2 separate regions of the Homo sapiens genome follow, and region 1 is linked to region 2. Evidence: promoter capture Hi-C in 16 types of primary human blood cells and fetal thymus (Javierre and others, 2016). All regions are on one chromosome and are shown on one strand. Each heading gives the region's core, a stretch centred on a gene start or on the middle of the fragment in contact. The rest is flanking DNA. Distances are from core to core; before and after follow the strand shown.

Region 1 (7,451 bases), core at 2,260-4,759, 630 kb after region 2:
ACAGATCCTAGCTCAAGATGGGCATCTCTGACCACATGGTCACTTAACGTCCATGACCAGAAACTCTTTCTCTAGAGGTTCCCACAGGAGAGCAGGAACCTCTTTCTGAATGGTATCGTTCTCTGCACGGCCTTCTTCCAGAGCCCAAGGAGTCTGGGCCATGACTCTTCTTTGAAGTTCTCCAGGGGCTCTGTGTGTGTGGTGTCTTTCTCCATTGCAAATACCTCTTGTACCATGGGATTTGCCAGATTTTATGGCAATAACTTCATGGTAATAAGATCATGATGTAGCAGGCCTCTAAAGCTTCGTGGAATTTATCTCCCAGCCTGGCTCGTGTGCCTTACTTGGGGCGTCCAGAGTACTTTCCCCTGCTTGCTCGTCAGATCCAGTTAACAGACTGCCATCAGTATAGTGAACTAACGTGATAATCTGTGGAATGTCCAGAGGGCCTTTTCCCTTTGGACTATACTGTGACAAAGAGCAGAAGAATTAACATATCCCTGGGGCAAAACTGTGACTGTGTACTGTTGTCCCTCCTGTGCGAATGCAAATTGCTTCTCACACTCTCTCCTGATGAGATGGAAGAGAATTCATTCACAGAATCCGTAGCTACTGATACCGGGTACCAGGGGCAGTGTTAATTTAATCTTAGATTAAATGAATCTAATTTAATCTAAGATTAAACGAAGATACCACATCTGGCCTGGCAGCCCATTTGGTGTTGCTACTTGGTTGAGTTTGAGGTCTGCAATCATCTATTCTGATTCAGCCAGTCTGCAGAGAGGCCAGAGAGGGGAAATCACGAGAGAGATGGTGGGGGTTACTACCTAGGCCTTCTTTAACTCTTTGAAGGTGGCATCAATCTCAGCCATTTCCCCTGGGAAGTTATAGGTTTATTGGGGGCTAACTGACATACAATAAACTACACATATTTAAAATATAGAGGTTTTTTTTTGTTTTTTTTTTTTTTTTTTTTTTTTTTTTTTTTTAGATAGGTCTCTCTCTGTTGCCCAGGCTAGAGTGCAGTGGTGCAATCTCGGCTCAATGCAACCTCTGCATCTAGGGTTCAAGCAATTATCCTGCCTCAGCCTCCTGAGTAGCTGGGACTATAGGTGCGTGCCACCACGCCCGGCTAAGTTTTTTGTATTTTTAATAGAGATGAGGTTTCACCACGTTGGCCAGGCAGGTCTGGAACCCCTGACCTCAGGTGATCCACCTGCCTCAGCCTCCCAAAGTGCTGGGATTACAGGCGTGAGCTACCACACTGGGCCAAAATGCAGAGTTTTATGAATTTTGACATATGTGTACAACAGTGAGACCATCATCACCGTCAACAATTTCTTGTAAGTTTTAAATTCGTAATTAAATTACAACTGTGTAATCCCTTCCTCCCACCCCTCCTCCCCAGCCTTAGGTAACCACTGATCCGCCTTCTATCAGGTATTCTTTGCATTCTACGGTGTTATGTCAATGGACACATACAGGATGTATTCTTTTGTCTGGCTTATCTCATGCCATATACTTATTTTGAGATTCATTGATATTGTTGCAGGTATCAATCGTTCATTTATTTTTATTGATAAATAACATGAATGGGTATATTTGCTTATACCTTCACTTGTTAGGCGTCACTTGGATTGTTTCTGGTTTGGGCTATCTATGATCCAATGCTATAAACATTCATGAACAAGTCTTTGTGGAGACAAATGCTTTCATTTTTCTTGAATAAATACCTAGGAGTGGAATGGATGGATCATATGGCCGGCCGGTGTGTGTTTCACCTTTTAAGAATCTACCAAATCATTTTTTAAAGGGGTTGTACCATTAATCTTCCCACTCACAGTGCATGAGAATTACAGTTTCTCCTACCTTTGCCAAAAGTTGGTATGATCAGTTTTAAAGCAAGAAAATTTAACCATTCTAATAGGTGTGTAGCGATATCTCATTACGATTTTTAATTTTCATTTTCCTAATGATTAATGATGTTGAGCATGTTTTCATGACCTTATTTATTATCCATATATCTTCTTTGGTCAAGTGTGTAGGAGATATCTGTATATCTTTTTTGCTCATTTTTATAGGGTTGTTTTCTTACTATTCATTTTTGAAAATACACAGAGAATATGCAATGAATATTCTGGATATAAGTCCTTCATCGTAATATGATTTGTGAATATTTCCTATCAGCTGATGGCTTGCTTTCTTTATTCTCTTATGACTGCCTTTCAAAAGAGTGGAATTTTTAAATTTTGATGACATTCCATTTAGCCACCTTTCTTTTATGAATTGTGCCTTTGCCGTCATATCCTTTCTGTGACTAATCTAAGGTCACAAAGATTTTCCACCATGTTTTCATCTAACAGTTTCACAGTTTTACATTTATATTAGGTTACTAATTCATTTTACATTAATGAATTTGAATACAGCTTGAGGAATTGGTCAAAGTTATTTTGTCTTTTTGCAGGTGGATATCCAATTGTTCCAGCATCATTGGTTGAAAAGATACAATTTCTCTATTAAACTGACTTTGCACCTTTGTCAAACTAGCTGTCCTCATGTGTGAGTCTATTTCTTGGCTATCTGATCTGTTCCACTGATTTACTTCTCTATCATTATGCCAGTAGAACACTGTCTTAATTATTATAATTTTATAACCTTGAAATCAGATACAGTAAGTCCTCTAAGTATGTTGTTCTGTTTCAAAGATGTTTTGGTTACTGTAGGTCCTTTGGATTTCCATAGGAATTTTAAAATCAGTTTGTCAGTTTCTACAGAAAGCTTGCTGGGGTGCTGATTGAGATTACGTTGAATCTATAGATGAATTTGTCAGAAACTGACATCCTGATAATAATTCTGAGTCTTTCAATCTAGGACTCAGTATATTTCTTTATTTATTTGGGTATTACTTGTTTTTTCTCAGGAATGTTTTATAGTTTTCAGTACACCAGACTTGTACATATTTTTTTAGATTTCTCTCGCAGTATTTTGCATTTTTATGCTAGTAAAATTTCAATGTCTGATTGTTCTTTGTGTGTTTCATGTAGATTCTGTTTGACCATCTACATAGGCAATCATTTCTTGTATAAATTAAGACAGTTTTTCTTCTTCCATTCCAATCTGGGTGTATTTGTTTCTTTTTATTTTCTTATTACACTGGGTAGAGCAGATATCTTCACCTTGTTTCCCATCTCAGGAAGAAAGCTTTCAATCGTTTACCATTAAATATGTTAGCTGTAAGTTTTTCATAGATACTCCTTATCAGGTTGAAGAAATTCCCTTTTATTCCTAATTTGCTGAGAGTTTTTATCAGGAAAGGATATTGTATATTGTTTGTTAGATACTTTTTCTTAGCATTGCGGTGGTTGATTTTATGTATCAAATTGGTTGGACTACTGTGCCTAGATGTCTGGTCAAATATTATTCTAGATGCTTCAGCTAAGGTAACTTTTGGATGAGATTAATGTTAAATTGGTGAACTCCGAGTAGGGCAGATTAACCTCCACAATGTGCAGGGTCCTTGTCTTAGTTCATTTTGTGTTGCTATAAAGAAATACCTGAGACTGGAGATCTATACAGAAAAAAGATTTATTTGGCTCATGATTCTTATGGCCGAAAATTTCAAGATTGGGCATCTGCATCATGGTGAGAGAGAAAGCAAGAGCGAGCAAAGAAGGGGAGATGCCAGGCTCTTTTAATAAACAGCAACCAGTAAAGAACTGACTCATCCTTGAGGGAGGATCTATTCAGGAGGGATCTGGCCTCATCACCAAAACACCTCCCATTAGGCCTCACCTCTAACATCGGGGATCAAGCTTCAGTATGAAGTTTGGAGGGGACAAACATCTAAACCAGGGGTGTCCAATCTTTTGGCTTTCCTGGGCCACACTGGGAAAAGAAGAATTGTCTTGGGCTACACATAAAATATACTAACACGAATGATAGCTGATGAGCTAAAAAAAATTTTGCAAAAAAGTCTCATGTTTTAAGAAAGTTTACTAATTTGTGTTGGGCTGCATTGAAAGCAGTGCCTGGCTGCATGTGGCCCATGGGCCACAGGTTGGACAAGCTTGAACCATAGTCCTCATCTAAGCAGTTGACGAAGGCCTTAACAAAACAAAGATTGACTTTCTCTAAGCCAGAAGGAATTCTGCCAGCAGACTGCTTTTGGATTTGGGCTGCAGCTTTTTCCTGGGGCTCCAGTCTGCCACTTACCCTGCCGATTTTGGATTTTCTCTCTCTTTTTCTCTCTCTCTGTGTGTCTCTCTCTCTCCACACACACACACACACACACACACACACACGCACACACCCCTGTTGGTTCTGTTTCTCTGGAGAACCCTAACCAGTGCACATATGTATATTGATAATAATATGCTTTTCCTTTTCTAGTTTCATTAATATGAAAATTTATATTGATTGATTTTTGAGTGTTAAACCAACCTTGTATTCTGAAACCACACTTGATCATGAGATATTATCCTTTTTACATATTTTCAGGCTTGATTTGATAAAATTTTGTTTAGAATTCTTGCATCTATTTTTATGACAGGTTTTAGCCTTAGTTTTCTCTTCTTGTAATGTCTTTGCCTACTTTTGGTATCAGGGTAATAATCCTGGTCTCATAGAAATGGTGAAGGAGTATTCCCTCTTCTTTAATTTTTAGAAAGAGTGTTTCTAGAATTGGTATCCTTTTTCTTTAAATGTTTGGTAAAATTTACCAGTGATGCTGTGATGTTTTCTTTGTGAATAGAATTTTTACTAGAAATTTAATTTGTGTTTGTGAGTGTATTTAGGTTATCTATTTTTTCTTGTATGAGTTTTGGTAATTTCAGTCTTTCATTGAATTTGTTCATTTTGTTTAAGATGTCAATTTATCAGAATAAAGTTATTTGTAATAGCCCGTATTATCCTTTGGATATCTGTAGAATCTGTAAATGATGTCATCTCTCTTACTTCCTAATACTGGCAGTTTCTGTCTTTTTTTTCCTGATTAATCTTGGTAGAAGTTCAGCAATTTGATTGATTTTCTCAAAAAGAATCCATTTTTGGTTTATTGATTTTTTTCTCATTTTTCCCTGTGCTTTGTTTCCTTGATTTACTTCTCGATTTTTATTGTTTCCTTCTTTCTGTTAACTTTGAATTTAATTTTGAATTGTAATTCAATTTCTTTTTGGTCAGAGAGCATACTTTGTGTTGCTTGAATCCTTTTGAAATTACTGAGACTTGTTTTATGGCCCATAGTAAGATCTGTCTCAGTAAATGCTCCTTGTGCACTTGAGAAGATTATGTATTGTGTTGTTATCAGGTGGAGCGTCCTATTAGTGTCAGCTAAATCAAGTTGATTGTTTTGTTCAAGTCTCTTATATCCTTACCAATTCTCTGTCTACTTGTTCTATTATTGAAAGAGGAATATTGAATTTCCTGTTATAATGTGAATTTGTCTATTTCTCCTAGTAATTTGGTCAGTTTTCTGCTTTATTTGTTTTAAGGCTCTGTTACTGGGTGTATAAACATTTTGATTACTAAATCCTCTTGATGGACTGACTCTTATATCATTATGAAATGACCTTTTTTGTCCCAGTAATATTCTTTGCTTTTAAATCTGCTTCCCTTATATTACCATAGCTATTCTGGCTTTGATTGGTGCTAGTTTTGCTTATGCTTTTTAAAATTCTTTTACTTCTAACCTACTTATGTCTTTATAATTAAAGTGTATTTTTGGTAGGCAGCATATATATATTTATGGGTCTTGCTTTTTCTATGCAACCCAACAATCTATGTATATTAATGAAGGTGTTTAGATCATTTATATTTAATGTAATTGTTGATATAATTGGAATTAAGTCCATTATTTTGTAATTTGTTTTATATTTGCTTCATCTGTTTTTTTCTTCAGATTGAGTATTTTTCATGATATCATTTTCTTTCCTTTGTTGGCTTATGATCTATAGCCATTTGTTTCATTATTTTAGTGGTTGCTTTAGGATTTCTAATGCATATATTTATCTTATCAGTCTTTCTTCAAGTGATATTTGACCACATCATACATAGCATAAAAACTTTACAATAGTATATTTCCATTTCTTCCCTCCTCACTTTTATGCTATTATTGTCCTGCATTTTACTTGCATATTATAAACCTCACACTATATTGTTTCTCATTATTAAGTTAATATTTAAATAAATTTTTTATTTTAGAATAGTTTTAGCTTTTCAGAAAATGTGTAAAGTTAGTACAGAGAGTTCCCAGTCTATGCCACATTCAGTTTACTCTATTGTTAACATCTTGAATTATTTTGGTATTGTTACAACTATAATTATCTTTTAAAGATATGTAAATAGCAAGATAAAAAGTACATATTTACCCATGTAGTTATCATTTCTGTGCTCTTTATTGCTTTGAGATCCATATATTTATTTGATATCACTTTTCTTCTGCGTGAAGAAGTTCCTTTAACATTTCTTACAGTGCAAGTCAGTTGACAATTAATTCTTGTAGCTTTTGTATATCTGAAAAAGTCGATTTCACTTTCATTTTGGAAGATATTTTCACTGAATAGGGAATTCCAGTTGGCAATTTATTTGCTTTCCCTATTTTAAAGATGCTGCTCACCCTTTTATTCTTTGATTTATTTCTGGTAAGAAATGTCACTCTTATCTTTCTTTCTTTCTTTGTATGTAATGTGTCTTTTTCCCCCTCTGGCTGCTTTTAAGATTTATTTTTAATACTGATTTTGAGAAATTTGATTATTATCTTCCCTAGTGTAATTTTCTTAGTGATAGTGATTCTTATGCTGGGACTCATTAAAATTTTTAGATTTGTGTGTTTATAGGTTTTCTCAAATTTGGATTTTTTTGCCTATTATGACAGTTTCAATAAAGTTTTACATTTTAGAACAGTTTTAGATTTACAGAATTGTTGCAAAGATAGTACAGGGAATTCCCATAAACCCCACACCCAGTTTGTCCTATTATCACCATCTTACATTGGTATGGAACATTATCATGGTTAATGAACCAATATGTATACATTATTATTAAGTAAAGTCTATAGTTTTTTTCAGATTCCTTCAGTTTTCCCCTAATGTTGCAGGATTCCCATCCGGGATACCATGTTACATTTAGCAGTCATGTTTCCATAGCTTCCTCCTGCTGGTGACGTTTTCTCAGACTTTGCTTTCTTTTGATGACCTTGACAGTTTTTGAGAAATACTAGTCAGGTGTTTTGTAGCATTTTCCTCAATTGGGATTTGTCTGATTTCTCAGGATTAATTTGGGATTATGGGTTTGAGTAAGATGACAGAGGTAATGCCATTCGCATCATATTAAGGCTCTATATTATCAACATGGCTTATTGCTCTTGATGTTGACTTTTATCACCTGGCCCAGGTGCTGTGATATGGTTTGCATCTACATCCTCACCCAAATCTTATGTTGAAACATAATCCCCA
Region 2 (6,726 bases), core at 3,673-6,172:
GGGTGCCCCTGGCCAACCATTGGGTGGTACTGGGGTCTGTGGGCAGGGGTTCAAGTTAGAGGGTGGTTGCCTGGTGGCCCACATGCAGGAAACACACAGGGAGTTTGCATGGGCCCAGCTCATCCTTAGGCGACTGGAGCCCAGCTTGGAGCAGGTGGGGTGTTGGTTTAGGGTCTGCACTGGTGTTGTCTTTCTGATTGTCTCCAATTTGGGACTTCCTCCGTCTTGCTGGGGTCTGACTTCCCCTCACTGGTCCCTCTAAGGAGTGGGGCCTGTCTAGGGTGCAGAAGCCTCCCTGGGCCTCAATTTTCCCTCACTGAAAGGAGAACATAGGATCAGAGTCTCTGAGGGCCCATCTAGCTCGAATGTTCCTTGAGTGCTTGAGCGAAGCTTGCCCATGGTTTGAGATTTGTCCCAGAACCCCTTTTGGTTCCTTTAGACCCTTCTGCTCTAGCTGGGTGCTGATTCCATCCCTGTAGCCTGGCCTACATGCAGGCCTGGAAGACCTTAATTGGTCTGTCTGTGTAGGAGGGAGCCCCGGTCCCCACCGCCCAGTGCTCTGGGGGCTATTCACTTTAATGGTCATATAGTCACATGGGTTTTTATCATGCAACCTCAGCACTTCACTCTCAGTCCTGGGAAAAAGCACATGGTCTGGACAACAAGGCCTTACACCTGAGGGCTGTGGTGAAGCCGGAATTGCAGAGGGAGAAGTAAGGACACCTGAGACCTGGTGCTGGGTTTGACTATGTCCCCTCCAGAATTCGTGTCTGAAACTTACTGGCCAATGTGATAGTATTAATGTAAGTGGGAAGCTGGGCGCAGTAGCTCAAGCCTGTGATCTCAGCACTTTGGGAGGCTGAGGTGAGTGGATTGCTTGAGCCCAGGATTTTCAGACCAGCCTGGGCAATGTAGGGAGAACTTTTCTCTACAAAAAAAGAAATATTAGCCAGGTGTGGTGATGCGTGCTAGTCAGGAGGCTGAGATGGGAGGATCACTCAAGCCTGGGAGGTGGAGGTTGCAGTGAGCCATGACCGTGCCACTGTACCACAGCCTGGTTGACAGAGCCAGAGAGCCAGATCCTGTCAAAAAAAAAAAAAAAAAAAAAAAAAAAGGGCCAGGCACAGTGGCTCACGCCTGTAATCCTAGCACTTTGGGAGGTCGAAGTGGGCAGATCACCTGACGTCAGGAGTTTGAGACCAGCCTGGCCAACATGGTGAAACCCCATCTCTACTAAAAATACAAAAATTAACTGGGCATGGTGGTGGGCACCTGTTACCTAGGTACTTGGAAGTCTGAGGCAGGGAGAACTGCTTGAACCCAGGAGGTGGAGGTTGCAGTGAGCTGAGATGGTACGACTGTATTCCAGCCTGGGCAACAGAGCAAGACTGTGTCTCACAAAAAAAAAAAAAAAAAAAAAAAGAAGAGAGAAAGAAATAGGGCCTTTAGGAGGTATTTAAGCCTGAGGGTTCCTCCCTCTGAGTGAGATTAAAGCTTTTATAAAAGAGGCTTCCCAAAGCGTTCGCTTCACTTACAACACAGTGCCATCTTGGAAGCAGAGAGCCCTCACCAGACCCTGATTGCACTGGCACCTTGATCTTGGACTTCCCAGCCTCCAGAACGGTGAGAAATACATTTCTGTTATTTATAAATCACCCAGTCTCGTGGATCACCTGAGGTCAGGAGTTCAAGACCAGCCTGACCAACATGGAGAAACCCCATCTCTACTAAACCTAGAAAATTAGCCAGGCGCAGTGGCTCACACCTGTAATCCCAGCACTTTGGGAAGCCAAGGTGGGTGGATTACCTGAGGTCAGGAGTTCGAGACCAGCCTGACAAACATGGAGAAACCTCATCTCTACTAAAAATACAAAATTAGCCGGGTGTGGTGGCACATGCCTGTAATCCCAGCTAGTCAGGAGGCTGAGGCAGGAGAATCGCTTGAACCTGGGAGGCAGAGGTTGCAGTGAGCCAAGATCGTGCCATCACACTCCAATCTGGGCAGCAAGAGCAAAACCCCATCTCAAAAATAAATAAATAAATAAATAAATAAAAAATAGAAAATAAATCACCCAGTCTCAGGTATTTTGTTACTGTGGCACAAATGGACTGAGATACCTGGCATCTACCCTTGGAGGCTACCAGTAGGCCAAGGGCCAGCCAGGTGCCTCTGTGCAGGAGCCACGCTGCTCCCTGTTTCTCTTCCAGAGAGCACTGTATGGGGCTGACCCACCTCTGCAGCCAGGACAGACATGGCCTAGGTCCTGGTCCCTGTGGAGGAGTCTAGCTGTGGTTTTAAGGCAAAACTGGCCATGCGTGGTGGATCATGCCTGTAATCCCAGTACTTTGGGTGGCTCAGGCGGGCAGATCACCTGAGGTCAAGAGTTCGAGACCAGCCTGGCCACCATGGCAAAACCCTGTCTCTACTAAAATTACAAAAAAAAAAAAAAAAAAAATTAGCTGAGTGTGGTGGTGGGCGCCTGTAATCCCAGCTACTCGAGAGGGAGGCTGAGGCAGGAGAATCGCTTGAACCCGGGGGGCAGAGGTTGCAGTGAGCCCAGACCACACCATTGCACTCTGGCCTGGGCAACAAGAGCAGAACTCTGTCTCAAAAAAAAAAAAAAAAAAAAAAAGATAAAACCAAGTTCTGTCTTGTCTGTTTTCTTATGCAAACCTCTCTCACAGCCACTGCCCTCTCTGCATTTCTTGGGTCCTAGCACCCAATTTGGAGACTGCTCTGAGACATGCCCCTTGGTTCCTTTAAGCCCAGAGCTGTGTGCCTCAACTAGATGGGGCCACGGTGATGGTGGGGTGAGCAGGAAGGAAGATGGAAAAACAGACAAGTTAAATTATGTCAAACAACTCATTTATTTTCTCTTGTTTTGCTTTCTTTCCAGTGGCTCACTTGAGGGGTTTTCTTTTTCAGTTTTCCATCTGCTTCTTTGGGGTCCCATGGAGTCAGGCTTCAGGAGAAGACCCCAGCCCCTGCTGCTCTGTTGGGCTCCTCCTGGCTCCTGTGTGCTCAAGGTGCTGGGGTCTCTCCCCAGCCTCCCGTCACACCTCTGCTGGGTTCACTCTCTCTGAGGTGGCAGAGTGAACAGGGCCGACCACTGAAAGGGGAGTAATCCCAGAAAAATGAAGGGAAGAATGCAGGTCTTTAGGAAGCCCCATAGAAGGATGGGCGCCCCCCTCAACCGTGAGGAGCCCTCCCTGTCCCATGGAGGGATGCCCCCCCGCCCCCCGTGAGGAGCCCTCTCCATGGAAACAGGGTTGAGGGCCTGACCTCCCCCTTGGAGCCCCAGAAAACAAAGTGGGGAGGGTAGGGGGAAACTGAGTTGGCGGTGGCGGCACACGGAGGACCAAATCCTCTCAAGCTGGCGTCTGGGCGGGGTATGAGGAGCAGACCAGCCACGCAGCCACGGCGGCCGGAGTCACTCGAGGTCAGAAATGCCCAAGCAGGAAATGAGATGCAACTTGTAACAGACATCAAAGGAAATGGAAAAACATTCTTCTAATATGTCAGGGAGGCTAGAGGAAGGCGGGGGGCGCTGGCCCTTTATTAGGAGACTGGGGAGGGGGCGATAAGAGATGGCACTGGAAGGCTAGAAATAATTAAAATCAAAGCACCAGACACCTGGGGGTGGGAGTGAGTGTCCTCCCTGCAGCCGGGAGACCTAAGGAGCATGCTCAGAGCCCTCCAGGAGTGCCTGGAGCAGCAGTGGCGGGCAAAGGCCTGGCCTCGGGCCCGCCTCTGTCTCAGCCAGCTCCTCCAGGCCCAGGGATGTGGTCCCCATGGGGTGCCTGCTGCAGGCAGCCAGCACAGGGCTGGTGTTGGCAGAGCCCTGGGAACTGAACACAAGCCTTTTCCTGGAAGAGAGTCCCAGTGGGATCGGGGTGCCAGCACGTGCTGGTCCCGAGGGCACAGCGTGGCCAAATGGTCTTGGGACCGAGTCCTGCTCCTTCCACACAGAGAGGCAGTGCCTAACCAAAGGTGCAGAGGGAAGAGGGCAGCCTCAGGGTCCTTGTCTGTAGCCAGGGGCCATTGCCTCCTTTTCTCTACACAGGTCTGGGCCCGATCTCTGGTGCTCACCTGAGGCTGGCCGTTTAAAGTAGGACACTTCTCCTTGCCTCTTGCCTCTTGGGAAGCCTTTGATGGGCTGCACCCTGACGCGACCCCTTTCCAGGAGTCCAGGCGCACCCCTGGTGGTGGCATGGGGAGTTGGTGCTCGGCAGTGGGTCCTGACCACTTCCTGCCCATCACAGCCACGGCTTCTCCCCTCTGAGGAGGGATTGCTTTCTCAGAAGGGCGAGCTGGTGCTGGGCATGCACGCAAGTGTCCAGAAAGCGGGAATCCAGGGCCCTGAGCCTGCGTCCCTGCCGACTCAGCCCCGGCTCTGAAAGGGAAGCAGATGGGAGTGGAGGGGACCCCGTGCCCGGGGCCTGGGACCAGGCCGGCTGGGTGTGGCTTCACCAGGATGCGCCGGGTTTCAGCCTCTGTTCTGGGGGCTGCATAAGTCAACTCGGGGCGAGTCCCAAACTGTGCTGGGCTTCGGTTTATCACAGTGGGGCTACCAGACACCAGGTTACAGCCCTGGGGTCGGGGGGCAGAGGTGGGTTGATTTTCCCAGGCCCTGGGGGAGCAAGGGAGAGCCTGCTGCTCCCCAACACAGCGATTTTCCAGGATCCGACGCTACAAACAGCAGCAACATCCTTGGTGGAAAAGTTCAAGAATCTGGTCCAAAGGCAGCCTGAGTGAGCCAGCCGGGACCAGAACCAGGAGCCGCCCAGTGGAAGGGTAGGTGCTGGATGCCCTGCAGGAGGGACGGTGGTGCTGGGGCCTTGGCCACCGGCCGGGCAGCAGCCTGGAGCGCCGACTCCAGAGGGGAGGCTGGGCGCAGCTCCCGTCGGGGCGTGCGGGCAGCTGCGCCCAGGCGGGAGGGAGCGCGCGGCGGTGGCCCAGGCGGCCCTGCCCGACTGTCGGACCGAGCCTCCCCCTCCCGGCCGCGGCCGCGCTTCCCGCTAGCGGGTCCGCGGGGAGGGGCGGGAAGGCAGCTGGACGCGGCGGCGATTTATGGGCCTTTCAGGCGAGCAGGTGCCTCCTCGGGCCGCCCATTGTCTCGCCGGCCTCACAATGGGGCTGCTGCAGCCGCAGAGCCGGCCCCGCCGCTGCTCGCGGCCTGCACGGGCACGACGGCCCCGGGACGGCGGGAGAGCCTGCGGTCGGCGCATCTGTCCGCGCGTCCGTCGGTGCGTCCGTCGGTGCATCGGTCCTGCTGCCCTCCGCGCGCCTGTCCACGGGAACGGGCCTTGGGCGCCCAGCGTCCATCCCTGCGCGCAGCACGGCTCCGCTGGCCCTCGGGGTCCCCGCGCCCCGACGGTGCGCCCGCGCCCGCTGCGCTCGCTCGTCCTGCGCCCGCTCGTCCTGCGCCGTCGGGCACCCGGCTCCGCCCGGCTGGCACGGCCCGCGCCGCTGCGTCCCGGTCGCACACACAGGGGCCCATTCTTCCTGGCTCCGCGCAACCATATGGCAAATCCGCGTCGACACAGCAGCCCCCGCTCATTCAGGCGCAGAATGTCCCGCAACAGGGAACAATCACGACTCTGTTCGCGTCTATTATGGATGCGAACGGGGCGAGAAAAAAAATCATTTAACTCCAAGAGATAGCCAGCTAATTAGCAACCATATGTGAGCCCGGATTCAAAGCGATGCCGAGGAGTTCATTCTGCGTCGGGCGACTTTATTAGGTATAGAAGACAGATGTCCCGACAGCCCACGCATCACAGAAAATCGTGTCGGGGAGTTCTTGAAATGTCCGGGAGAGCTCTTTAAATATTAAAGACCCAGCCCAGCTGATGGACTGGGCCGGGGTCCTCTGGGATCCCCAGGCTGCAAGAAGAGGACTTAGCAACAGCGACTCTGGCAGACGCTGGCCTGGCTGGCCCAGGGAGGGGGTCCCTCCGCCTCCCTCCAGGGCCCCCTCTGGCTGCCCCTCCGGTCTCAGACTCTTTCACTCAGGTGCTCTGGGGCCCCAAGGAGGAACAAAGGGGCTTCCTGCAGGCACGGTTGGCCCAGTTATGCTTCAGGGTGCCTCCGAGGGTCACGGTGTGGCTCTGTGGGGGCGTCCCAGTCCAGGAGAGGAAGGCTGCCTGGGGAGTGTCTGGCTCGCCCTGCCCCCAGCCCAGCTGAGCTGGACAGACAGTAGGTCTTCCTTCCGAGTTTGCAGAATGAGTGAGTGAGTGAATGAATGAATGAATGGATGAGCCAGTGTGGCAGCCAACCCAACTATGAAAATCCCTCGGGGGGTGGGCGGGAGTGGGGACAATAGTGGAAGGAAAACACTCCCGATTTCTTTACCAAGAAAACAGCCTCTGGCCGTGAGCCTCCGATTCTTTGAGGAAGGAAAAGGAGAAAGCTTGTTAGAGAGAGAGAAAAAAATCTTTCTCTGTTTTCCATGCAATGCAATTATGTTCCAGCTTTTCCTCCTTGTTATTCTTTTAAGCCAAATGTCTGAATAAAAGGATTATTCCCTGCGCCCCCCCAGGACTGACCGTACCGCTGTCAGCAGGCGGGGCGCTGCTGGCGAGATTAACTGCAGCCTGTGGCTTCCGCATTGCTTCTATGAAAATAAGTGAGGTCAGCTGCCATTCAATTGTCGCAGCATATATATTTGAAAATTTAAATATTTGAATCAAAGGAAAAAGGGGGATTTGCATTTCTGCCCAACG

What was found. The method cuts DNA at HindIII sites, captures the fragments that hold promoters and counts their contacts. A CHiCAGO score of 5 or more calls a contact.
Region 1: a contact is called between a fragment that was not itself captured here and the fragment with the promoter of KCNQ1DN in region 2, in 1 of 17 cell types (M1 macrophages). The highest score is 5.5, in M1 macrophages.

The regions. Positions count from the first base shown.
Region 1 is chr11:2,240,783-2,248,233 of GRCh38, reverse strand. No RefSeq gene overlaps it. Among named protein-coding and RNA genes, the nearest start is that of ASCL2, 26 kb to the left of the region's middle. The HindIII fragment of the contact is 611 bases long and covers 3,204-3,814 here.
Region 2 is chr11:2,868,229-2,874,954 of GRCh38, reverse strand. KCNQ1DN (KCNQ1 downstream neighbor) reads right to left here and starts at 4,922. Exons shown (of 2, transcript NR_024627.1): 1 at 4,091-4,922; 2 at 2,850-3,110. RefSeq lists an enhancer at 5,523-6,031 and a cis regulatory region at 6,031-6,726. The HindIII fragment of the contact is 4,919 bases long and covers 1,497-6,415 here.